Regions from separate parts of the Homo sapiens genome. Here regions 2, 3, 4, 5 and 6 are each linked to region 1. Evidence: promoter capture Hi-C in 16 types of primary human blood cells and fetal thymus (Javierre and others, 2016). All regions are on one chromosome and are shown on one strand. Each heading gives the region's core, a stretch centred on a gene start or on the middle of the fragment in contact. The rest is flanking DNA. Distances are from core to core; before and after follow the strand shown. Region 1 holds the start of DPH5 (diphthamide biosynthesis 5). Region 2 overlaps LINC01307 (long intergenic non-protein coding RNA 1307). Region 3 has its middle 86 kb from the start of LINC01307. Region 4 has its middle 7.2 kb from the start of LINC01307. Region 5 has its middle 130 kb from the start of LINC01307. Region 6 overlaps LINC01307 (long intergenic non-protein coding RNA 1307).

Region 1 (4,311 bases), core at 832-3,331:
TGGAGAGAAAGCGAGAAAGCTCATGGTATGGAGTGGAGAGAGATGATGCTAAAAAGGTAGGCAGTGGCCACACCACGAATGATCTTGTGGGGTATGTTAACAAACCTGGACTTTCTCTTGGCCTCAGAAGGATCTAGAAGGGGTGTAATATTTTCAGATTGTTAACTATAACTCTCTGACCCCCTTGAGTGAAGGAGACATTATTATCAGCTACAAGAGTGACAAAATGAGGACCTGAGAATCAAGATGGTGATAGACGGTATGGTTTCTATTGAGATATACAGGCAGACATGACAGACGATGTGGGGGTGACTCCCAAGTGTCTGGCTGGGGTTAATCTGTTGATGACAATACTCTCCTCACCCACCCCCACCCCCGACCCATCCAAGTAGATAATATGGAAAGAAAAGCAAAATGGAAAGGGAAGGTGATGGATTCAACCTTGGATGTGTTGAATATGCTTCCGGGTTATCTAGGTGAAGATTTCCAGCAGAACGTTAACATGAAGCCAAGAGGGAGGAAGTCTGGATAGGAGGCTGAAATTTGAATCTACAAAATATTAGCGATACTAGGAATTCTGAGTGAACAGCCAGTTTTTGTGAGGTTTTGTTTGTTTTACTTAAGCCATTCTAATAGGTGGGTTGTGGTAGCTCATTGTGATTTAAATGTTTATTTTCCTAATGTCTAATGATGTTTAGGATCTTTTTTTGTTTGTTTAAGATCTTTTAAAATAATTATTTGCTATTTGTGTATCTTCTTTGGTGTCTATTCAAATCTTTTGCCCATTTTTAAACAACGAACTGTTTTATTATTGCTTTCTGAGTGCTCCTTATATATTCTCCATACAAGTCCTTCATCAGATACATGCTTTGTAAATATTTTCAGTATGTGGCTTCAAGTCTTTTGAAGAGCATAAATTTTTACTTTGTTGAAGTCCAATTTATCAATTTTTTTCATCACGCTTTTGGTTTAAGAAATATTTGCCTAAATAAGGTCACGAATATTTCCTCCTATGTTTTCTTCTGGTATAGGTTTAGGTTTTCCATTTACATCTACGATCCATTTTGAGTTTTTTGGGGTGTGTATGTGGTGTGAGGAATAGATCAACGTAATGAGAGGGGATAAAACACAGCCACGAAGAGTTTATAGATAGGAAGTGCAAAAAGGTGGATGGAACCTGGGAATGAAAAAAAGCCAAGGTTCAAGGAAGCGGAGTTGGGCATTGTCGGGGAGGCAACAGGAAAATTCTGAGTAACCAACACTGCCTGCTAAGAAAAGCAATGACAGCTGTCTTTTTTAACTTGGATGAGGTCACCTTGGGAAGAGCATTTTCAGTCAAAACAAATCTTCCCTATTTCTAATTACATGTAACCAACAGCTTTATAAGAATTCCCCCGGCAGAAACACTTGAGAGGTCTGAAATCCCTGAGCACTATTAAAGGTCACTTCTTTAGGTACAGGAAGGTCTGGGATTCCTGACACTGAGGGTGACTGAAACATCCTTGGGGCACTCCAGGCATAAGGTCTTGGGGACAAACCCAAGGAGTCATTGCCTTGTTGGGAAATCAGAAGCACACTCACTGCTGGGTTTGCCAATCTCACGCTTCACCAGGAAGACACCTAGTTGAACTACAGGAGGATGAGAAGACTGGAATTAAAATCTGTGCACTCGGCCAAATCCGGGGACAAATCAGGAAAATCCTTCCCAGCCCTCCCTGTTTCTGGAGAGGAGGAGTAGGGCGCAGGGCCCCTCCCGACTCTCTTCCACGTGGCTCCTCTCGAGCGAAGAGCTACTGCACTTACCCAGGCTTAGGAAGCGGGTGTTTAAGCCATGGGTTAGAGGGCTCGTGAGCACGCCCGATCCTTTCCCTGAGGCTATGAAACGGTGGCTCCACGGACTCCTCTCGGCCGACTGACCTTTCGCCGCCCTGCCCCAGCAGCCGGCGGGTTTCTTCAGTGGAGCCGGGCTCTGGTCTCCGCAGCCCAGTAGCCCGCTAGCCCGGCCCCCTCCCGCTAGTCGTAAAGTGCAGTAAAGGCACCAGCATTTTGCGGCACCGTAGGTGAGGCCGGCGGCGTGGGCCTTTTCTCTGCACGGAGCCGGCGCTTTTGCAGTTGCTTCTGCGGAAAGGTGGTAGTTAAGAATTTGTAAAGGCCAGAGAACTACCTACGATTCTCTCAGCGGGTAATTGGCTGCTCCTAGGTTTGTGTAACAAGAGGCAAAACTGGTAGGGTTGTTTAAAACCTCTTATCCCAGTTCTTAAGCGTGACATAAGGTTCCCAAACCCCTCCTTGTGACTTGCCTCTTCTCTTGTGCTACTTTGGTTGTCATCGTGTTCATCACTAGATTTTAGATGTCCTCGGTGTTACTGACGGTTTTTCTGTCCACTTCGTCTTGCAGTCTCTCTTCTCCTCAAGTTTGAAATGCTTTATCTCATCGGGTTGGGCCTGGGAGATGCCAAGGACATCACAGTCAAGGGCCTGGAAGTTGTTAGACGCTGCAGTCGAGTGTATCTGGAAGCCTACACCTCAGTCCTAACTGTAGGGAAGGAAGCCTTGGTAGGTGCTGAGCGTTCCCCAGCCTCCTGGGAAGAAAGCTATCTAACATCTGATTTTCATACACTAAGCTGAACAGAATTTTCAGGTCTGCTTGTTTAAACCCTTTGAAACGCATCCCTTGTTCATTAATGATCTGAGGAGCAGAAGAATGGAAATTTTACACCAACCAAGTGACTTGGAAAATGAAAGGGTGCTTTGTCCTATTTTACAAGTCTAATTTTGTGGCTTTCTCCAGTAAATAGGAAAGCTATTTTATACTCCTGGGGGATAGTTATCAAAACCCCTTATTTCATGAGGTAGTCAAGAAACCCTTTCTGAGTTGAGTGCTAATGAGGAGCTGACACAGCCTTAATGAGTTGGTTATATATATTCAAAAACCAAGCTGAAAGCTTCCCCCTTTGAAGTGTGTCCATAGGGAATGGCGATTGCCTTTTTGTATCCTATCCAGAGAGATCTTATCTTAAATAGACTATCTCCCAATAAGGCTTATACTGATACACTTGTATATATTGAGTGAGCCTGGACTTAATATATAAAAATGTATGAGTATACACTTACATGAGTATACACTAAGTAACCAAAGTATTTGTTAGTATATTATACATTTATAGTTGGCCCTCATAAGGGCCCAGTAAATTTGGGGGAAGGGTCAACTTCAGGTTCATTGTCAAACTCTAAGTAGAATGTAAATCAAAGGATTAATACATATGTTATGGGAGGAGGGAGCAGATTTATTGTCATGTCTTCCAAACAAAAAATAGACTTAAAATTTTTAGGCCTCAGATTACTTTAAAATCTTATAGAAGGAATTAAGAACTGCTACTTGAATTGGCCATGCATTTAAATAAAAGTTGTGTGTAAAGACCAACTTTGATATATACATATATGTGGAGAGAGAGAGAAAATAAGTCTTGCTCTGTTGCCCAGGCTGGGGTGCAATGGTATGATCATGGCTCACTGCAGCCTCAGCCTCCTGGGCTCAAGTATCCTCCCACCTCAACCTCTCGAGTAGCTGAGACTACAGGTGGGTGCCATCATGCCCAGCTAATTTTTTGTATTTTTTGTAGAGACAGGGTTTTGCCACATTGCCCAGGCTGGTCACAAGTTCCTGGACTCTAGTGATCTGCCCACCTCGGCCTCCTAAAGTGCTGGGATTGTATAGGCACAAGCAACCACACCCAGCCTAAGGCCAGCTTTGATTTAAAAAACATTTTTTTTTCTCATTTTTTCACTCTTAGGATAGAACCAAAATATCTAAGCTCGAAATGATGGAAATGTGCGTCTCTAATCAGTGATTAAGGAAAAGTAAAAGGAACTTAACACCTTCAAGAAAAGACAGACAAATAACAAAACAGCAGTTTGATAGAATGAGATATCAGGGGATGGCATAGAGGAAAGTTTGGTTATAGTTTTATCTTTGTTACATGTTAATGTGACCTTGGACAAGTCCTTTAACTTTAGTGTCTTTTTTAAATGGGGTAAAAAACATCTACTTTAGGTGTTCAGCATAATTCTTAGCATAGGTTCTTAACTATGGTATATGGCACAAAACTGTTCAGAAATAGAAATTGTCAATGTTCACATTTCCAAACTTCTCTGAACCTCAGTTTCTTCATTTGTCAAGTGGCAATTACCAGTTGGAGGGTTATGTAGTGTTTTATTGAGATGATGTATATGAAAGTGCTTTGTAAATTTTCAGTGCTAGCTAAATGTTAATTTTGGCTGCTGTTATTTTGTAAAGTATTTTTTTCCAAA
Region 2 (4,381 bases), core at 158-2,657, 340 kb before region 1:
TTCCAGCCTCACTCTTCATTATTCCCTGATTCAATTTTATCCACTAGCATAACAAAAATGCTTATGGTTCCTTACATTCAACGTGTTGTTTTTACTTCCAAGTCTTTGCTCACATTTGCTCTCTGTCTGGAGTTTCCTTTACATTACGTCCATCCCATTCTTTAATATCCAAGTCTTTCTTGCATTAAATGGGTTGTCGAGCTATATGCCCCTCCCCACTCATGATCTTCTGTCCACACATATATGGATCCTTGTGCTCATCAAGTTACATTGTGATCATCTATTTAGAAGCCTAGATGCTCCCTTACACTGTAAGTTGCTTGTGAGGAGGTACGACTTACTTATCTTTGATCTATCAGGACCTAGCACAGTGTCCGACACATGGAAGGTGGAGCTCCCCAAAATAACTCATGAATGAATGAACCGTACAAATTTGAAATAAGAGATGAATTGGGGAAAGACCAGAGTACGGTAGTAAGTGGAAAGAAGAAAGAGTCAAGAAAAATTATAAATGAGAGTGGCTTGAGTGGTCAGCACAGGAATTTGCTTCAAAGGTGGCTAGTAGTCCATATCCCAGGCCCCAGTCATTCCAAAAATCAAGGTCAGTGCTCAAAGGGGTTTGCTGATGGGTGGGATGGAGCAGGGTAGAAGAATACTGTACCCAGCTGATTTGTTAGATTTTAGCGCAAGACTCAGCCAAGATATGAGAGTACAGTAGACAGGTCCAGACCCTCGGGAGCTAGGCAGAATGTTGGCCTCTGCGGGGGAACTATGGTGCAATCCAGAGACAGGCCACATGCATAGGAGGATAAAAGAACCCCAAGGCCTGGGAGACTCACTCGTACCCCAGTTACTCCAAAGATAACAAGCTGCCTAGAGCAAGACTACTTCATGATGTTCCAGCTGCCATGATCAAGTCTGACTTCAGGCCCTGACCAGATGAAACTTCAGGTTAAAAAGCCACAACACTCACCATCTAGCAGGCTGGCAAAGGCAGAGACTGTCATCTGCAATTAATGACAACTGGGAGCAAAGCTTTAGATAAACAAGATCTATTTGGAGGGGGCGGGAGCATCTATATGCTTACCCTCTGAAGAATCCAACGCATACATTTTGGTCTATTAAACTACGTGTTTATCTTCCTTCAAGGCAAAAAGGAACATCTGTCACTGAGCCCTTGTACTTAATTTCCATTTTGAACACTGGGCTTCATCAGACACCACAGTCAAATCACAGAAAGCAGAAAGCTCACAGGGCAGGGCGGCAAGAAAAGGCCCACAGAATTGCTTTTCAAAGTTCTTAATGGGCTAGCACGTGTCCCCAGTGTATGTCCTCTGTCCTGCATTTCGTTATCTGAGCTGTGCTCCATTGTTGTTCATTTTGCTCTCTGTTTGGGCTTCTCTGGGAGCAAAATAGCACTTTTCTCTCTCACTTCTAGCATTGGTGCTTCTTGGTGAGGAGGGAACAGAGACTGAAATGGTTAGGAGACTGCAAAAGAAACATGAGAAACTTCTGTTGATTGCTAGCTGAGCATCATGATAGGTTTTAATGTCACACCGTGCACTAGTCTCAGCTCTCCCATTTGCTAGCTGCATGTTTCTTAATGAGCTTCATCCCAGAGCCTTTATGTAACTGACTTTGCATTGACAGTTCTTAACACATGGTAAACACGCAGTAACTATTAGCTGTTATATGAACTTGTACCCGAAGTGTACTGGGTAGTATTGGCCTCTAAGACATATAACTAGTGGGAGAACAATCCTTCCTCTACAAAGCTTTGGACTGCATGCACCTAGTTCTGTATCATCAATACTTTTTAAAATCAAACTCCAAAACCCAGACTCTAATACTTCCAGAGTCTGGAATGATAACCAGAGAACCATAATTTCATCAGTAACTTTGCTTTAAGCCCCTGACATTTTAATAAACTTTCTGTTTCCCAGGATGTTTCTTTATTATTTTAGAAGCCCAACAGAAGGAAAGTAGCACCTCTAAGTACCTCCCTAACTTTCAAAGCTCCCCTGTGAGAAAAATCATAAACTCTTATTCAAAAGAGATGGTGTCTGGTTGGGCAGAACCAAGCTGTCTCACTGGCAAAATTCCATCTGCCTTGAATCATTTTCCTTTTTGGCCTGGAAAATTACAGATGATTAACTTGTCCTCTAATAAATACCAGGAAGGCTTTCCTACAGAAAAATGTAAACAGTTAATTTTGAACTATATTATAATTATTACAATCACCCTCATGCAAAATACAGAAATGCAGGCCATGAGCCTCAATTTCTCCACTCTAACTGAAAATGGACCAGTTTGAAGACAGTCAGACTGCAATAAGCACTTGTAGCCTGGCATATTTGGCTTCTCTCTCTGAGGCCTGCCTTCCTGCCCAGGCCACCATCTCTGACTCTCCTGTCTAGGACAGCCTAGACTCCTGGTCATTACATGTTTCTGCTACATATGATTCACCAGCACCTTTATGAAATCAGGGTGCTCTCCTGGGTTAGGACTCTAGAGTTTGCCAAAGATTCTATCTAGTTCTCTGGTCCCTAGTTTCTGACTTTTTTATAAAAAAATGTATTATAGAAAAAAAATCTAATTACACAAAAATAGAGAACAAAGTATAATGAGTCCCTGTTTATCCGTCACACAGCTTTCACAGTTATTATCATCTTGCTGATCTAGTCTACCTCCACCTTTTCTATTTCGCTTGAAAATGCTAAAGAAAATTCCAGACTTTGTATAATTTCACTTCAATAGGTAGCTTCAGTTTTTGAACATACACAATTTGAAATATCTACCCTAGTTATGAGACGATAGGATCTTTCCATTGATGCTTTTTTGTTCAAAGTGATAAATACCACTGCTTTAATAGGCCATTATTCCATCCTGACCTTTTAAAGGTCAAATGATTCTCTGTGTTCCTGGTCATCGCATACTAACTCAAACATGTTAAACAAACATTAATCTTCAAAAAAAATCACAGAAAGAGAACCCTCCCATCTGACCTACATGACATGCCCCTTGGGAAATTACTAAGCATATTTCAAACTATGTAGAAGGCCCAGGAATTTAAGGCTACAGTGACCCATGATCACGCCACTGCACTCCAGCCTGAGCCACAGAGTGAAACTCTATCTTAAAAAAAAAAAAAAAAAAAAAAAAGGATTAAAAGTCTTTACCTACCAAGAAGTCAGATCTCCCCATTCCTCAGTGATGCACCATTAGTCCAACTTATTCCATTTATTAATACCGGGTACTTGGTAAATGACAAAGCATAAGTCAATCACTAGAGAATTAAAAATACATCTTGAGACTAAAATATCAATGTATCCACTTTCAGGGTCATGTCTTACATAAGCAGAATAACCCAAGCAGATTTGGCCACTTAAAAACTCAATTCCAATCAGGCAGGACCCACAGGAAGCAGCATTTGCTATGTCCTAATGTTCTTATTAACCCACGTAAAGGTAGAGTTTTAAACTTCAGAAAGCACTCAGTCACTTGATATTTATTTTTTTAAAATCAGTAGTGGAGACTAAATTGTTTCTTTCTTTAACCATTTGTTTTTTATTCCCAGCACAGTAGGAGGTAAGTGTAGTTCCAAGGAGAATGGGGCAAAACCCAGAGGCCAGCCCTCAAACTCAAGAAACACAGCACAAAGCTGTCTTTCCAAAGCTATGTGGTTCCGAGCCCAGGCTTATGGTATCCAGCTTTTCCACTGTGGTTTTGAAACGCTGGCATCTCCTTCTAGGTCCTCCATGAGCTCACACTCAGAACTAAGAGTTATGTTTGTCTTAGTAAATTCCTATTTTCTGACACTAACATTCTTGTTATGGCTCTTCCATCCTGGCATCCCCTCCAAGCTCCGTCTGCAGGACATCCTCCCTTTTCTAATGTCACCTTGTGTCCTGTCTCCTGTCTCCCATGGAGTAGACATCCTTTCAGCTTCCTTATCCCCCTCTGGACCCAAACAAACGGACTTCCCAAATGTTGAGGGACTTAGAGGCCTTTTCCTGCTCACCTAACGTCTACCTTTTCCTCCTAAAAACTTATCTTGTTGGAAACCCTTCATGGGACTAAGCCAGCTTTGCAATTTAAGATGCTGAGCTGCACAACAGGAGAGGTCAGGTGACAACAGAGTGGAAAAATCAGCAGAGCACTTGGAGAAAGAGCCAATGGACAATTTCCTTAATCCTTCCATCTCCTTATATGTCCTGTGATCTTTTTTGTCACTGCTTGGGCAGTTTCCTATTACAATTACACTGCATTTCAGCATCAGACAGCTCATCTCTTTTCCTTTTTAGGAGAAACTAGGGAGATACTGTCCTTCTATAGCCCCTGACCCAGCAGTTCCCCTGGCCTCTGGAGCTCCAGCCTAGTG
Region 3 (4,385 bases), core at 1,730-4,229, 380 kb before region 1:
CTTGGTTTGGATCCACTGCTGATGAGCTAGTGTGATCTTTTGGATGTGCTAAAGAAACTTCTTTTGTCATATTACCAGAATTGTTTTTCTGGTTCCTTCTTATTTGGGTAGACTATGTCAGAGAGAAGATCTGGGGCTCAAGGGCTGCTGTTCAGATTCTTTTGTCCCACAGGGTGCTTCTTTGATGTAGTGCCATCCCCTTTTTCCTAGGGATGTGATTTCCTGAGAGCAGAACTGTAGTGATTGTTATTTCTCTTCTGGATCTAGCCACCCAGCAGAGCTACTGGGCTGGTACCAGGGGATTTCTGCACAGAGTCCTGTGATGTGATCCTTCTTCAGGTCTCTCAGCCATGGATAGCAGCACCTGCTTTGGTGGAGGTGGCAGCGGAGTGAAATTGACTCTGTGAAGGTTCTTAGTTGTAGTTTTGTTTATTGTACTAGTTTTTTGCTGGTTGGTCTCCTTCCAGAAGGTGAACTTCCAAGAGAGCATCAGCTGTGGTAGTATAGGGAGGATCAGGTGGTGGGCAGGGCCTTGGAACTCCCAAGACAATATGTCCTTTGTCTTCGGATATCAGGGCGGGTAGAAAAAGACCATCAGGTGGGGGCAGGGTTAGGCAGGTCTGAGCTCAGACTATCCTTGGGTGGGGCTTGCTGTAGACACTGTTGGGAATGGAGTGTGTGGTTCTCAGACCAATGGAGTTATGTTCCTAGGGGGATTATGACTGCCTCTGCCTTGTCTTGTAGGCCACCAGGGAAGTGGGGGAAATCCAGCAGTTACAGGCCTCACCCAGCTCCCACATATCCCAAAGGCCAGTCTCACTCTTGCTGTGGCCCCCTCTACAGCACCAAGTTTGTTTCCAGGCAGTGGGTGAACAGGGCTGATAACTTGCTCCAGGCTACCAATCTCCAGCTGTAAAAGCAAGCAGGGCTTTCAGGTTTCATGGCTCCCCACCTGCCACAGCTTCTGTGCTGTGTCTGCACTCCAGATTCACCCCTCCCTCAAGTTCCATCCAGGAAACTTTGTGTTCAGTTGAAGTTGTTACACAGTTCAGCTAAAAGTTTCCTCCCTGTGGTCTTTTCCCAGTTCCTCTGGCAGCACTCCCCAAGGACCTCTGTGAGACAAAGTCAGAAATGGTTTCCCTGGGGACCAAGAGAGCCACAGGGCTCTTCTAGCTGCTTCTTCTACCCTTGTATTTTGCTCAGCTTTCTAGAATTGTCTCAACCCCGGGTAAAGTCAAATCCTTCTCTTGTGATCTGAACCTTCAGGTTCCCCAGTGAGAGTGTGTGTTTGGGGGTGGATGATCCCCCTTTCACACTTTCACACTTTGGCTGTCTCTCGGGGCCTGCAAGAGTGATTCACTTCCTTCAGAGGGTCTGTGAATTCTCTCAGATTTCCTGGTATGTTCCTGTGATAGATGTGGGAGCAAAAGTTCACGATGTGAGTCTCCACATGCTGCTCTCTGTCTGAATGGGAGCTGCAGTTTAGTCCTGCCTCATATCTGCCATTTTCCCCAACCTGTCTCCATTCCTGTTTTTAGCAATAGGAAGACTCACAGAGATACAGCAGCCTAGACTTCAACCAGCTTGTCATCTCCAATCAATTATTTGTGGATACATTGAGCACTGTGCTGACAGGCTCAGCTTTAATGTCATGATCTGTGAGTAATGTCTGCCATGACTTTGATTATATATTTTCCACATACCTATCATAAGTGTAAAGGGCTGTAAACCCAGACATTAATAATTATATAATTACTTTAGCCTGTTATTGTTTGTATCAGCAAAAACAAGGTAATAACTGTCCAATAATTGGGGGTAGGTTAGATAAGTTATATGTAATGTAGCAATATTTGACTATTAAAATATAATCTATACATTTATCAGATGATTGAAAAGATGTTTATGATTATTATGTGAAAAAATGAGTTTCAAGTTGTATAAAATATGATCACATTTTTCAAATGGATTGTTGAGATAGGATGTATGTTGAGACACTATTTACATATGTAAATATAAAGCAGGTCAGAGCTCAGAGCTCTTCCTCATCTCTTTATTTTCTTTTCTACTGCTTCCTAGGAATTTTGTGTTTTGTTTTTTCTTATATTGTTATTGTTGTTGTTACAGTTATTATTTCATTCTGTTTTGTTTTGTTTGTGCCTTTTTAAGGTAGGAAAAAAGAGAGAGAGAATCTGTTAGACTAGTAAAGTATTACATTTTTGCTATAAAAGGCATCAATATAATCAAAGGGTTTTTTGCCTGTAAATGTTTAATTCTGATTTTTACAAAACATCCCTTCTAAATAAAGCACAGAATGAAAGGCCCTGACACCACCTTTTCAAGAGTGGAAACCAATAAACTAGCAGAGAGAAAAAATGGTAAAAAGGGAGCCCAGAGGGAGCCCATCTGAGGCAAACCTGGATGAACTGACACATAACTCAGAGGAGAAAGTAAAGGACTGTTCTGTATCATCTTCCAAGCTTGGTACATCTTGAACATCTAGTAGTAAAGTTTTCTCAATGTACTTAGCCTTAATATCCTTCAAGATGTCACTAGCATAACTAAAGGATATGTGTGCTTATGGGTGTGTTTTCAGAAAGAAAGTCAGAAATAATGTCTACCAAAGTGTTAACAGTAATTATCCAAGAGTAGTGATATTATGCATAGTTCTTACATTATTTTTGCTTATTTATATTTTCTAACTTTTTTCTACAATAAACACAGAGAGTTTTAAATGAGATTTTTAAAATTATAGCTATGATTTTAAAAGAGAGAAAGAAAAATCATACAAAGGAGATTTCAGAAAAGAAGATTCCCATATTCTCCCATGTTTTCTTCTTCATGGCAGGTAATAGAACATGTTCTTACTTCTGGAAACTGCAAAGCTGGAAGGGATCTTAGAGGTGATATGGTTCCTCCTTCTCATTTTATACATGAAGGAACTCAGGTCTAAGATGCTTAGTATTGCTCCCACTCAAGGTTCACAGCAGCAGAACAAAAAGTAATTTACATTTGTTGATTCTTAATTTAATACTTTTATAATGTGGCAGAAAAAACAGCATCATAAAAGTTTAAGATTCTACAGTGTCTCCAGTTAATTCTATCCAAAAATAAAAAATTAAAATAGGAGGTTTGTTGGCCAATAACAAAAGAATGGAGGCAGCAAAGCTGGAAATATATGCCCAATCAACTTGGAGACATTGTCTTAAATTTATCGCCAATCTTCTGGGATATATTGAATGGATATACAGCTATAAGCTGCCCTCTTTAAACTAAACACTGCACTATATTCTTGCCCTTTATAACAACTTCCTCAGTGAAACCTGCCCTGTGATTATATCCTCCTCATCTGTCCCAAGAGAATAAGGCAAAAATATTATTAAAACCTTAGCTTTTTTCAGTGTCATCTCTTAAATATATCTGTTTCTGACTCATAGGCAGTATTTTCCTTTTATCTATTTCTTACTCATATGAATGAAGCTTTAAAGAAAATTTTACACTGATGCATGCCTCCAACTTGCCTCAGGTAAAATGAATGAGACAACATCTACACAGCACTTTGAGCTCCCCAGACAGGGACATCAGAAATGAGCAGTAGCCTTGCTCTTGTCAAAGATATCAACTGAGCCTGGCAAGACTCCAAACCATAGAATAACTTTCCTGACCCCTCATCTGTATCTCTCAACTAGATACAGAATTGAAAATAGGAACCAGTCATTTGGGGTAAAACATATGCCAAAATAGTTCTGCAGCGTGGGTAAGAAAAAGGGTGAGATGTGCAAAGGGGAAGCTCTCTGAAAGCAGAGAATATAATTAAGTCAACTTTCAAATTCAAATGTACTTCTTCCTTTCCCACATGTTCTAAATCAGACCTCTTTCCCATAGGGCTGCAGATGGTGCCTCTAGGGCTGGCTGTCACTGATCTCTGAAGGGTAAAACTGAACTGAAACCTACAAGCTTCACACCTGTGGGGTCAGCTTCATTAACAACTTTGACCTTTGCTCGTTTTTAAGAGCTGCCCCAACAAATATCACTGCAAACAAGGTGCACCCTGACTCTTTGGTGATATATCACCTTCTCTTTTCACCTTGACCCTTTGGTCATATATCACCTGACCCTTTGGTGATACATTACCTTCTTGGCAATCTAATTTTAAGTCTCACTTCATGTTAATCCAGGACAGGGATCTTAAGTCAGTCTTGAACTCTCTTTGTAAAACCTAAGGGAGGTTTAACTACTAATTTACTGCTTGGACCTCAATTAACATCTGTTTTTAAAAATCACTTAACATTGCCACAAAATAATAGTTCTATGCTTCTCTGACAGATTTCATCACCTCAGTTTTCCAACTTTTGACCCAACTACAGTTAAAGCATGAAAAAGACACA
Region 4 (3,903 bases), core at 1,033-3,532, 290 kb before region 1:
GCAGGTGCCATGTAACTTGTGTAACTTTGCTATTATTTCTGCTGCAGAGGAGAAAAAAATAGTATCTTTTCCTAACCCATCCCAAAGTTCACAGCTGAGAACCCTATAACAAAAGACAGAGTAACATGAGAAAAGCATAACGAATTTAATAAAATTTTTACATGATATGGGAGCTTTAGAAATGAAGACCCAAAGAAACAAGGGAAAACTGTATTTTTGTGGACAGGTGTGTAGAAGTTTGGAAGACAAAAGGATATGATCTGATGGTAATAAGCTGAGAAAACATAGCAAGTCCTGTTTGTTCAGATTCGTCTTGCCCTCTGGGTATAAGGAAGGAACCCTCCAGAACAAGGGTCTTAAGACCTCCTTTTAGAGAAGATAAATAGATAATTCTCTTATGGTCTGCTTCGGGGGAGAAAGGCAGAAGAAGGTTAGAGAGTGACCATCCTGCTTCTGCAGTTTCCAGCAGCTTAAAATAATATACCAAGGTGCCATATTTGGGGGTAGCATGCTCTGCACCCCATCACTGCTCTCGAAGCCCCCAAAAGCAATCAGCCTAGGTAGTTTAAAGCTGCTTGCTATATGATACAAAGCCTCAGAATATCAAAGCTAGAAGGACTCAGAGAGATTCTCTAAGTCAAGCCCCCTTATTTCTGGGTTCTCTCTGTCTCACGCAAACCTCTACATCACCTGCTAGGGTCAATAACTAGATGCAAGACTGTTCCCCACACTGCCCCCTTCTGGCCATCTGATCTTGAACCCAGGACTTGTTTTTTACCTAAATCTCTCTGTCTATAGTGTGATCTCTATACTTGCTGCGCAGACAGCTTACGCAATCTCTAAACACCTCCTTAGACTTCTGATACCCTAGCTCCCAAAATGTTCTTGAAACTTCTTTACCCATCTGGGGAAACTACAGAGTACAATTTCCAAGATATTTTGCCTACAAGAACCCTTACCTAACATTAAAAATTGTTGATACCCCTCCCCCATTATAGCAGATGTTTGTTTTGTATCTATTGACTGAAAAAATAATGGCCAGAAGCTTCTAGTAATTTAGCTACTTTTGAAAATACATTTGCAGCCAGGCGTGGTGGCTCACGCCTGTAATCCCAGCACATTGGGAGGCCGGGGTGGGCGGATCACTTGAGGTCAGGAGTTCGAGGCCAACCTGAGCAATATGGGAAGCTTTGTCTCTACTAAAAATACAAAATTAGCCAGGTGTGGTGATGCACGCTTGTAATCCCAGCTCCATGCCTGTAACCCCAGTTACTTGGGAGGCTGAGGCAGGAGGATTGCTTGAACCCAGGAGGTGGAGGTGGAGTGAGCCGAGATCCTGCCACTACACTCCAGTCTGGACTACAGAGTGAGACCTTATCTCAAAAAAAAAAAAAAAAAAAAAAAAAAGGAAAAAAAGTAAATACATTTGCACTTTGCTATTTGAAACAGTATCTAGTCACAGTTCAAAAATAAAATGACCAATCTGTGGGAGTCATTGTATTTATTCAGACTGTCGACATAGTGATTCTCTAATAGATTTGCCACACCTTGCACTGACGTTTATGCCCTTCCAAAGATATTCAGCCCTCTCACTGGGAACCACCAACCAGAAATATTTAACTTAATTAGGTAATTATTATCTTCAGAAAGTTAATTTTTCCTATAGATCCCTCATTCATTGAAATGGGATGTTAAATGCCACTGCTGTTACAGGAGCCACGCAATCTGACTTGTTTGACGTAAGGCACTGTAAATTACAAATATAGAAATTCTTTACTCACCTTGATAGTACAACTATATTCTGATAAAGAATTTAGAAAGCAATTGCTTAAAGGGCAGAACTCATGTTTTGTTGTTTGCTAGTTTTCCCTTCTGAAAAGCCTCATTAAGCACAAGAAGCTGAGCAGCAGTTTAGAAAAAAAAAAAAAAAGGGGGGGAAGCAAAACTGCCTTCCCAAATCCAAGAGTTCAAATGAGATTGCATACAAATTGCTGGGGTCTCTCTTCCTTCAGCCTAACAGCTATTATTCCTCCTTCTATGTGACTTGCATGGCAAACAATGGAAAGAACTCGGAGACAAAGAGCCACGACTGGTGAAGACAATAAAATCGCGGTATACATTGCTCGGGCAGTCTACCAGGCTAGTCACTGCCTCGCACATTTCTTCCACATGCTGCTGTCCATCATACAGGTGGCTTTTAAGAAGTGGGGGAAAAAAGCCATCAGTTGTCATAGAAACAGTAGCAATTTGTGCCACCTTTGTGCAAGCAGATAGGAGAGGCTTGCTGCTGCTGTTTGGCTATTGTCCAAGGACCCAGATTGAGAAACATCAACCGGCTTAAAAGGGAGCCCCTGAATTTCTGCCAAGCAAGCAAATCTGCACCCTTCAAGTGGGCTATCACATATTTGCTTAGGATTGAGGGTTAATTAAAATACAAGCCTCGATGTGGGAATGCTTTGAGAAAGACTCAACCCCCAATTCCCCTCTCCAAGGGCCACTGAAGCAACGGTAACCTTTTTACACCAGCGTCATCCTACGGGGAACAGCAGGGGTGACTCTGCTGTTAGAATTGTTAGAATATATAGCAGGTGTAACAACAACAGAGGTGTGGACCTCAGCCTGATGGGATCTGTTCTCATCAGGAGAAGCTATAATCATCTCTAAGAAATCATAATTAAATTGGTGATGAAGGCTAGCATTGGGAAAGGAACAGTTCCCAAGGGTGAGGCTGAACGGCCAAGGATCACGCTGATAGAGCCCAAGGCCGGGTGGCCATGGCTTTCTCTTAACTGATGGCCTCTTTGCGTCTGTTGCAGAATGGTTTCCCCATAAATCAGTAACCCCATCCTTCCACAGTAGGCTCTAAATGGCTGGCAATCCCTGGTGGCTCACCCAATACTGAACGCATCTGCCTGAGAGATGGGACAGAGTGGCCTTAACTATATTAACCTCATGTAAAAATTCAGGTCTGTTTGACTCATGGAGAAGAGATATGTTAGCAGACCTTCTGGGAGTCTCTCTCCTGCTCTTTATGCTTTGTCAGTACTGAAGGAAGCTGAGAGTATCCAAGGTTTGTACATACAGATCAGTGAGCCGGGAGTGGAGACTTAGCGGTTTGGTGTTAAAGCCATGGGTGACACGAGCTGGGCGGCCGGTCTGTCACCAGGCAGAAAGTCAAATCCAAATGAAGGGTAGAAGAAACTAGAGACCTGAGGGAGTGAGGTTGGGAATCACATGGAAACAGTAGGAGGCAGGGGGGCAGCCATTCGCAGGGCAAAGTTTCCAGAGGCTACAAAACAACACAACCTCACACCAGGCAAGTGGGTTGGTTTGAGGCTCGATTCTGAGCCATGGTCCAAATTCATTCAGAAGCTTTTCGCATGCTCCTGCTGGGACGAGAACAAATTGCACACCAGATCAGTCGGATTTGGCTTAGCCGCATGAGACAGAGAGTCAAAAAGAGCCCTATCTTCTTGAATTCTAGGTGTTTGGTAAGAAATAAAATATTAAAATAAGTTAAAAAGAGCCCTGACAAAAGCCAGAAATTGGCAGACCTGGGCTGCTATGGGAGTTTTGCCATAGTTGGGGACCCAGGCTCCTTTCAGCTTTCCTTTCCACTTTTAGGCTGAGGGCCTCAGCCTCAGGGTCCACAGTGGCTGTTATTTCCACAGCAGTCACAACCACATTCCAAACAGCAGGAAAGAGGGAAAAAGGCACACTCTTCCCTTTCTACAAAGGTTTGCCAGAAGTACCAGCCAACACTTCCGTGTAAAACTCACTGGCTGGAATCTAATTATATGGCCATACCTAGCTGCAAGGTGTATGGAAAACACAGTCTTTAGGCTGGATTCATTGCTACTTTGAATAAATTACTGCTGCTAAGTAAAAGAGGAAAGAGATATT
Region 5 (4,495 bases), core at 18-2,517, 430 kb before region 1:
TCTAATCCCAGCACTTTGGGAGGCTGAGGGGGGCGGATCACTTGAGGTTAAGAGTCCAAGACCAGCCTGGCCAACATGGTGAAACCCCATCTCTACTAAAAATACAAAATTAACTGGGCATGGTGGGGTAGGCCTGTAATCCCAGCCACTCGGGAGGCTGAGGCAGGAGAATAGCTTGAACCCCAGAGGAGGAAGTTGCAGTGAGCTGAGATCACGCCACTTCACTCCAGCCTGGTCAACAGAGACATTGTCTCAAAAAATAAAAATAATAAAAACACTTCCTCATCCATTATTCAGCTTTAACTCACAACCTCCTCTGACATACTGTTTTACATAAAAGCAAATGGAGACCCAGAGATAGTGAGTTGTTCTCCATCAGACATTCAGCAAATGAGAGCTGAAACTAGAATCTGCATGTTCTTTCTCTTAGTCCAGCGGCACTGTGCAAGGGAGGAAATAAATCAGAAATTATGTGATACCGAGGAAAGGCAATAGAATGCTTCTTGAAAGATGAGGACTTTGAGGTGAGCTTGAGGGAAAGAATATTCACAAATGTCAGAGGAATAAAGCTTGGGTATGCAAGAAATATAACATCACTATCACCAAGACGGAATTTCTATTTTTAGCCCCCATCCCACCAGGTGGCATATACGATTCAATTACAGTTTTCTCCTCCTTTTTCCAAGATTGGTTTAATATAGGGAAGGGGAAGCCTACAGGATGTCAAGGCTGTGGGCTGGGGCAGGAAGTGGGTAGAAAGTTGTTCTCATCTCTCCACACTAGCATCTGCTGAGATGCCTTCTTTCCTGTGACTTCAGGAAGAACACCCCTACATATTCTCTGTTTCTCTTCCCTCCCACCTTCTTCTCTCATTTTGTGTGTCTCCTGAGGACATAGAAAACCTTTGGCTGCTTCCTACATGGTGCAAAAGAACTCAACAAGCCACCATCTCTCCTACTTCTACACTAAGCCTGCAGTACAAGACTGTAAACATGATTAACTTTCCATCTCACCCAGGAAGTAAGGCACAAGCTTTCTCTGCTGTGATCCCCAAACCCATATGGGGATACGTCATTATTCCTTCATCAAGATTCAGCCCCAAGAGGCTGGGAGGAGTGTCGGACCTGTCTCAGAGACACATCGGCAATGTCCTGTGATTCTCTCCTGATTTGTTTTCTCTCTCTCATCCCATAGAATCTTTACCTATCTGAATATCAGAAAACTGCCTCTGATGCACAGCATATTCTTCCAAATCTATCACTTAGGGCCTAAATTCTGCCCACTGCAGGGCTAAGGTCTCTAGCACCCAAGTCCAAATTTTCACAATTCACAAACCAAGAACTTCACTCTTATTCTCAGAGCTGTGCTCTAAAGATCCTCTCTGGAGCTGATGAATGACCTTGAGTAAATGAAAGGAAGTCAAGAGTTCAAGGTAATGTAAAGGGAGATAGAGGCACACATGACAAATCAGTCAATATATTTATTGGACTATATTAAGCTTATAGTTAGATACTGTGTTCTGCAGGATCTCAAGAAATAGTTACGGGAGCTTCCTGGGAGCTGAACACGTGGAGGTTCCTGGGGGGTGGCACGCCCAGGGAGGGCACAAAAGCTCTTTGCCCTGTTAGCACTAGGGAATGTATCTGAGTCACACGGCACCAAAGTATGTTACCAGCAGTGAATCCTTATGGGTCAGCAGCGACCTCAATTCTTGCCTCCTCAGAAGAAAGAATTTGACGGAGGAGCGGAAGGCAGAGTGAGAGACCCAGGCAAGTTTTACAACAGAAGTGAAAGTTTATTAAAAAGCTTTAGCACAGGAATGAAAGGAAGTAAAGTACATTTGGAAGAGGGCCAAGCAGTCTAGTTGAGAGATAAGCGCGCGGTTTGACCTCTGACCTGGGGTTTTATACATTGGCATGCTTCCGAGGTCTGCATCTCTTCTCCCGGGATTCTTCTCTTGAGGTGGGCTGTCCGCATTCATAGCCTGCCAGCACTTGGGAGGGGCCGCGTGCTCTGTGTTTACTGTTTAGAGTTGAGCACATGTTCCCTTACCAGTCAAATGTCCTAGAAGGTCATTTACCAGTTAAACCCCACCATTTTGCCTCTTAGTACACAGGCTTGAGCTCACTCACCCAACTCCTGATATCTTACCGAGAAGCTGCTAATCACCAATTTCAGATGTTTCTATCTATTGGGAGACTGCCTTTTCCTGGCACTGGCTGTGGCCAATTATGATTTTAGAGAGACAGTTTAGCAACTGCCTGACCATCACATGGTGGTCGCCTGACAGTCCTACTGGAGCGGAAGGGGACCTCTCTTGCCCAGCTTATGTCTGAGTAGCTGCCTACTGTAACAGCCTCTTACCCCATACCTCACCTTACGTGTCTCTTCATATGTATCCTTTGCAATATCCTTTATAATAAACCAAGTAACATAAGTAAGTGTCTCCCTGAGTTCTGTGAGCTGCTTCAACAAATTAATTGAATCAAAAAGGGGGGTCATGAGGACCCCAATTTGAAGACAGTCAGTCAGAAATTCCAGAAGCCCAGATTTGTGACTAGTGTGTGTGTTGGGGGCGTGCTGTCTTGGGGAACCCTTAACCTGTGGGATCCGACACTATCTCAGGGTAGATAGCAACAGAACTGAAAGATAGTATCAGAACTGAATTAGAATACTGGTATCAACTGATATTCACTGCTTGGCGTGTGGGGGAAATACCCACACACATTTAGTCACAGAAGTCTTCTTCTGTGTTGATGATTGTTGTGGCATGAGAGTGAAACCACCTTTGCAAAAATTATAACTCAGTGAATTATTACAGTGAAAGAGATCTGACCTAACCGACTCCATCTTGCTTCTAACCTCCAAGCTGTCCTTGTTCATCCCTGGCCGTAGGCCAAACTAACTCCGGGAGGGAATTAGTTTATAGTTTAATTTTGAAACAAAGATAATAACAATCATTTCCCAAAACAAAACCCCTTCCTGCCTGGGAACTAGACTGCCTTTACGGGACTTACAAATTAGCCACACAATTAGAAGTTATGGTTAGGGGTCACACAGCCGGAAGCTGCAAAATTCTCAACCTCCCCAAATTATTCCTGGAGATAACATCACTATTGTAAAACCTAACATCACCAGTGCTTGAGATATTTTGCCGACACTGCACTCAATGGATCAGCTGACACCACCCAGATCAATAAACTGTCTCATCTGGCCTTGTGGCCCCCACCCAGGAACTGACTCAGCACAAGATGACAGCTTCAGCTCCTTATGATTTCATCTCTGACCCAACCAATCAGCACTTCCAACTCGCTGATCTCCTACCCACCAAATTATCCCCAAGTCTCTGGGAGGCTGATTTCAGTAATAATAAAACTCTGGTCTCCCGTACAGCCAGGTCTGCATGAATTAAACTCTTTCTCTATTGCAATTCCCCTGTCTTGATAAATCAGCTCTGTCTAGGCAGCAAGTAAGGGGAACTCATTGGGCAGTTACAAAAGTAGAGAAAAACATGGTTGGAGATAGTTTTTCCCTAAACAATTGGTGTCAGAGAAGTGGGATTTGCTGGAAAGGCCCTTGTTCACGGAAACATGTGGCTTGAGAAAAGAAAGGACAAAAGGGTGGAAGGTGAGGAATTTTTTTTTAATATACTTTAAGTTCCAGGATACATGTGCACAAAGTGCAGGTTTGATATGTAGGTATACATGTGCCATGTTGGTTTGCTGCACCCATCAACTCGCATTTACATTCGATATTTCTCCTATTGCTATGCCTCCCCTACTCCCAACCCCACAACAGGCCCCGGTGTGTGATGTTCCCTGCCCTGTCCAAGTTTTATTGTTCAATTCCCACCTATGAGTCAGAAAATGCGGTGTTTGGTTTCCTGTCCTTGTGATAGTTTGCTGAGAATGATGGTTTCCAGCTTCATCCATGTCCCTACAAAGGACATGAACTCATCCTTTTCATGGCTGCATAGTATTCCATGGTGTATATTTGCCACATTTTCTTAATCCATTCTATCATTGATGGACATATGGGTTGGTTCCAAGTCTTTGCTATTGTGAATAGTGCCGCAATAAACAAACGTGTGCGTGTGTCTTTATAGCAGTATGATTTATAATCCTTTGGGTATATACCCAGTAATGGGATCACTGGGTCAAATGGTATTTCTAGTTCTAGATCCTTGAGGAATCGCCACACTGTCTTCCACAATGGTTGAACTAATTTACACTCCCATCAACAGTGTAAAAGCATTCCTATTTCTCCACATCCGGTGAGGAATTTTTGATTCCTGGGTGGCAACCTGGTCACCTATGGTATGAAGCCACAGCTGTGTTAAGATCAGTTACTAGAAGTAAAATTTACCAGTGGAATTTAGAGATGGATTCAATTCCCCAGGAGTTGGTTCATTGGATGCATAAAGAAATGCAAACTAATAAGAAAAAATCAAAATAATCCCTTGGTTATTATTATCTGTGAGAGCTAAAATGAAATT
Region 6 (4,344 bases), core at 1,668-4,167, 320 kb before region 1:
GGGTAAACCAACTCGAGATGGCAAGAAGACACGTACAGAAATTGATACAACTGTGTTATTTGAGGTGGCAGGCTTATAAAAACATATAAATGATTTTAAACATTTATATGTTTTTAAAACATTAAAAATGTTTTAAACATAAGCATAAAATGCTTATAAAAACAAATGATTTTATTTAGTCATATAAATGTCGTATTACACGACAGAATAAAACAGAATTTATATGACAGAATAAAAATCTATGAAACATAAAATAATTCCCTGGAAATTTCCAAAGATGTTGGGAAAGAAAATTCAGTGAAACACTAGAATTCCTACAGGTAAGCATAATAATTCAAATATAAAAGGTTATTGTTGCGATTATAGCTTGGTAAGGGTTAGGATATACAGATAACAAGGAAAATGTTTCCAAGGGTTGGTGTAAGTGAGGTCTCATACTCTAGACAGAAAGACAAGGATGAAGATCAAGAAAATGCCATTGGACAGAATGACCTCTTTTATTAGTGACCTTCAAAAGAGTTTTCGAAGTAAAACGATGGGGCAGAAAGCAAATGTCTTGACCTGGACTTGATACTTACACGTCAGAGAGGGTGCTTTAAGAAGTAAATGAGGCCCGACGCAGTGGCTCACACCTGTAATCCCAACACTTTCGGAGGCCAAGGCAGGTGGATCATCTGGGGTCAGGAGTTCAAGACCAGCCTGACCAACATGGTAAAACCCTGTCTCTACTAAAAATACAAAATTAGCCAGCCATAGTGGCACATCCCTGTAATCCCAGCTAGTTGGGAGGCTGAGGCAAGAGAATCGCTTGAACATAGAAGGCAGAGGTTTCAGTGAGCTGAGATTGTGCCATTGCACTCCAGCCTGGGCAACAAGAGTGAAACTCCATCTCAGAAAAAGGAAAGAAAGAAAGATAGAAAGATAAGAAAGAAGAAAGAAAGAAAGAAAGAAAGAAAGAAAGAAAGAAAGAAAGAAAGAAAGAAAGAAAGAAAGAAAGAAAAAGAAAGAAAAGCAAATGAGGTGACTTCTGATAAATCACTTAGCACAGAGCAGAGACAGGATGCCAGGAGCAAGGGATAAGTGGGGACAGAGGGAGAGTTGAAAGAGAGGCAAACCAGGCAATAGACTCCTCCACTTGGGGCCACAGGAAGTGCCTGTTAGGAAAGAAGGGAGGAAAGACAGAAAACCATCTGTGTCTCTTGTCAAGTGATCTTCATGAGTGGATGCTCACACTGCCATCCAACACCCACACTGAAATAAAGTGAGAGGCAGAGAGATGGCATCTTGTGTTCCCACCTTCCTACTAGAAAGAACACACACATACAGAATTACCCAGAAGGCTCAGAGAGCTTTGTCCTCAGAGATACCAGTAATAAGATACTACATGTGGGGGAATTATAAAGTTGGGCAATGGTCACTAGATAAATGAATAAACAAAATGTATTATATACATACAATGAAATATTATTCTGCCTTAAAAAGGAAGTAAGTTTTTTGATACATTTTACAACGTGGAGGAACTTTGAAGACATGCTGAGTGAAATATGCCAAACACAAAAGGACAAATATTGTATGGTTCCATTTACATGAGGTAGCTAGAATAGGCAAATTAAAAGAGACAGAAATAAAATTGGACATTACCAGGGGCTAGATGGAAAATAGGGGAATTACTGCTTAATGGTTATAGAGTTTCTGTTTCAGTTGATGAAAAAGTTTTGGACATAGTGCTGATGATTGCATAACATTGTAAAGGTAATTAGTCCCACTGAACTGTACACTTAAAAATGATTAGAATGAAAAATATTATTTTATATATGTTTAACATGATAAAAATTATTTTAGGCAAGGCAAAGTGCTCATGCATGTAATCCCAGCACTTTGGGAGGCCTGGGTGGGCAGATCACGAGGTCAGGAGTTCAAAGCCAACCTGGCAACATGGTGAAACCTCGACTCTACTAAAAATACAAAAATTATGCAGGCGTGGTGGCGGGCACCTGTAATCCCAGCTACTCAGGAGGCTGAAGCAAAAGAATCACTTGAACCCAGAAGGCAGAAGTTGCAGTGAGCCGAGATTGCACCATTGCACTCCAGCCTGGGCGACAGAGCAAGACTCTGTCTCAAAAAAAGTATATATATGCATATTATATCTATAATATATAATATATTCTATATATAGAATATATAATATATAATATATTATATATAATATTTCATATAATGTATATAATTTGTATATATTTATATAATATATAATATATATAATTTATATATGTTATACTTATATATATTATACATAAATATATATATATTTTTAAGTTGAACACTGGATGTTGAGCCTCTAATTAACTAGTTTATCTCACTGCAGCATGAAAGAGCAAATGTATCAATAGCCAGACTTCCAGGAAGTCCCTGATAGGCATTGGGTAGGCCAGCTCAGAGAACTTCTTTCTCTATATACACTACCCTTTCTCCTTTCATCTGGTTCCATGGCCTTTTAAACTTTCTGTTTCTTCTCAGAATTCTCTAGTGTCCTTCAGTTCCAAAGCTGCTATGTTTTTCCTTGACATAACTTCTAAGCCCACTCTTGCAAAGGCATTTAGCCTCTGGCATGGCTTATGAAAATACAATCAATCTCACCTACCACCATTTCCAGTGCTTCATAGTAGGATGAAGGTGTCCCAAGGTAGAGTAGTGATTACAGTTTCTCCCTAAATAGCTTAAAAATTATTATAACACATAGCCTTTCCCATACTGCAAAAAATTAACTGTCCTGGAAAAATGAACTTTCATTGGTTTTTCTTACACAATCATGGCTTACCTGATAGCATCATTCTTACATGATTTTGCTGGTATTTATCCTTGTCTTGACCTTCAGTTATGTTGTAATGATCTCTTTCATCACCTGCACTGACAGGAACCATTTCTCTTGTTTAACTCTTGAATGATTCACGTGGGAGCTGGGGAGTGAGATGGCGGAAAGAATGGGAAGGGCAAACGTTATATATATGCTTCCAAAATAAAATAAAAGGATACAAGATGAAAGTAAAAATACATGGGTTAATAATGGAGAAGAAATGAGATACTTTTTACGGTGAGTTGAGATGGTGGTAGAAAGATTGGCTGAAGATAAATAGAAATCTCAATGTGGAAAAGAAGTCAACAAGATCAGGTAGCATGGTCTCAATCATCTGTTAAGCCAGACACTCTGGATATCACTGTTCAGCAAACTATGAATCCAAATTTTTCCATCTTGCCAGCAAAAAGAATCATTTGTCCTTTATTAACATTAATTAAGCATTTATATGGAGTTTGTTTTGTTTTGTTTTGTTTTACAGTCAAGGTCTCCCTCTGTCACTCAGGCTGGAGTACAGTGGCTTGATCTCAGTTCACTGCAGTGTTGAGCTCCTGGGCTCAAGTGATCCTCCTGCTTCAGCCCCCTGAGGCTGAAGACTACAGGCTTCAAGCTGGGACTATAGGCACACATCAGCACACCTACCTAGAGACGGAGTCATACTATGTTGCCCAGGCTGGTCTTGAACTCTTGGCTTCAAGTGAGTCTCCCGCCTTGGCCTCCCAAAGAGCTGGGACTACAGAAATGAGCCACTACACTTGGCCTAATTGAGCATTTATATGTAACACGCTAGTAAGGTGGAAAGAGAAAAAATACATTTGGCAAAGTCTGGCTCCTGAAGATCTCAATGGCTAGAAAAGGGGGGAAGAGTAAAGAAATAACTTCTATGCTATCTAATAAGTGCAATAATAAAGATATATATATAAGCTGTTATATGAACATAAGAAAGGGAATACCTAGCTCTCCCTGAAGGTGTCAGAAAAGGCTTTACACAGAGGTGACACTGGCTTTGCATTGAAGTATGAGGAGGAATTTGCTAGGTAGAAAAGGAGTTCAGAACATAGTAAACAGAAAAAAGAATGTTAATAAGGGCAAATAATTGAAAGTTTAGTGTGTCAAAACAAGACTAGCAAAATGATTAGGGAAGCAAAATCAGAGGTTTATGCAATGCTCCGTAAGGCAATTGTTTTGCTAGGAAAGCCAGAAACAGACTATGAAAGATTTGCAGGTTAAACTAGGATGCTGGGATAAATTCGTGAATGGACATCAAAGAGCCAACAAAGTTCTAAGTATAATCAGCTCTATTTTTAGATAAATCTGGTAGCAACATGGAGTGTGATTCAGAGTGTTGAGAGAAAGGTGAGACATTATCACAGCAGTATAGGAGAAGTGAGGAGCAAAGCACCAAGGGTAACTAGGAGGATAGCATCTTAGAAGACTGGAAGTTTGACTTAAAAAGCACACACTAGCAGATTAGAGAAAAAAGAAAAAAA

Evidence for each region. The method cuts DNA at HindIII sites, captures the fragments that hold promoters and counts their contacts. A CHiCAGO score of 5 or more calls a contact.
Region 2: a fragment that was not itself captured here is called in contact with the fragment with the promoter of DPH5 in region 1 in 7 of 17 cell types (activated CD4 T cells, naive CD8 T cells, total B cells and 4 more); the score reaches 9.6 in activated CD4 T cells.
Region 3: a fragment that was not itself captured here is called in contact with the fragment with the promoter of DPH5 in region 1 in 2 of 17 cell types (total B cells and naive B cells); the score reaches 12.3 in total B cells.
Region 4: a fragment that was not itself captured here is called in contact with the fragment with the promoter of DPH5 in region 1 in 1 of 17 cell types (non-activated CD4 T cells); the score reaches 7.4 in non-activated CD4 T cells.
Region 5: a contact is called between a fragment that was not itself captured here and the fragment with the promoter of DPH5 in region 1, in 1 of 17 cell types (total B cells). The highest score is 5.2, in total B cells.
Region 6: a fragment that was not itself captured here is called in contact with the fragment with the promoter of DPH5 in region 1 in 3 of 17 cell types (activated CD4 T cells, total CD8 T cells and non-activated CD4 T cells); the score reaches 7.9 in activated CD4 T cells.

The regions. Positions count from the first base shown.
Region 1 is chr1:101,023,554-101,027,864 of GRCh38, reverse strand. It overlaps DPH5 (diphthamide biosynthesis 5), which reads left to right and starts at 2,081. Exons shown (of 8, transcript NM_015958.3): 1 at 2,081-2,182; 2 at 2,399-2,556. The coding sequence starts at 2,422. It overlaps DPH5-DT (DPH5 divergent transcript), which reads right to left and starts at 2,019. Exons shown (of 5, transcript NR_109849.1): 1 at 1,804-2,019. RefSeq lists a silencer at 299-358 and enhancers at 2,150-2,259, 1,352-2,551. The HindIII fragment of the contact is 3,765 bases long and covers 1-2,947 here.
Region 2 is chr1:101,364,736-101,369,116 of GRCh38, reverse strand. All of the region lies in intron 4 of LINC01307 (long intergenic non-protein coding RNA 1307), which reads right to left. Among named protein-coding and RNA genes, the nearest start is that of LINC01307, 43 kb to the right of the region's middle. The HindIII fragment of the contact is 740 bases long and covers 1,038-1,777 here.
Region 3 is chr1:101,407,365-101,411,749 of GRCh38, reverse strand. No RefSeq gene overlaps it. Among named protein-coding and RNA genes, the nearest start is that of LINC01307, 86 kb to the right of the region's middle. RefSeq lists enhancers at 1,000-1,079, 1,380-1,429, 1,450-1,499. The HindIII fragment of the contact is 1,000 bases long and covers 2,480-3,479 here.
Region 4 is chr1:101,314,682-101,318,584 of GRCh38, reverse strand. No RefSeq gene overlaps it. Among named protein-coding and RNA genes, the nearest start is that of LINC01307, 7.2 kb to the left of the region's middle. The HindIII fragment of the contact is 2,184 bases long and covers 1,191-3,374 here.
Region 5 is chr1:101,450,360-101,454,854 of GRCh38, reverse strand. No RefSeq gene overlaps it. Among named protein-coding and RNA genes, the nearest start is that of LINC01307, 130 kb to the right of the region's middle. RefSeq lists enhancers at 822-2,021, 2,391-2,440. The HindIII fragment of the contact is 466 bases long and covers 1,035-1,500 here.
Region 6 is chr1:101,348,660-101,353,003 of GRCh38, reverse strand. It overlaps LINC01307 (long intergenic non-protein coding RNA 1307), which reads right to left. Exons shown (of 5, transcript NR_126402.1): 4 at 2,819-2,957. Among named protein-coding and RNA genes, the nearest start is that of LINC01307, 27 kb to the right of the region's middle. The HindIII fragment of the contact is 6,334 bases long and covers 1-4,344 here.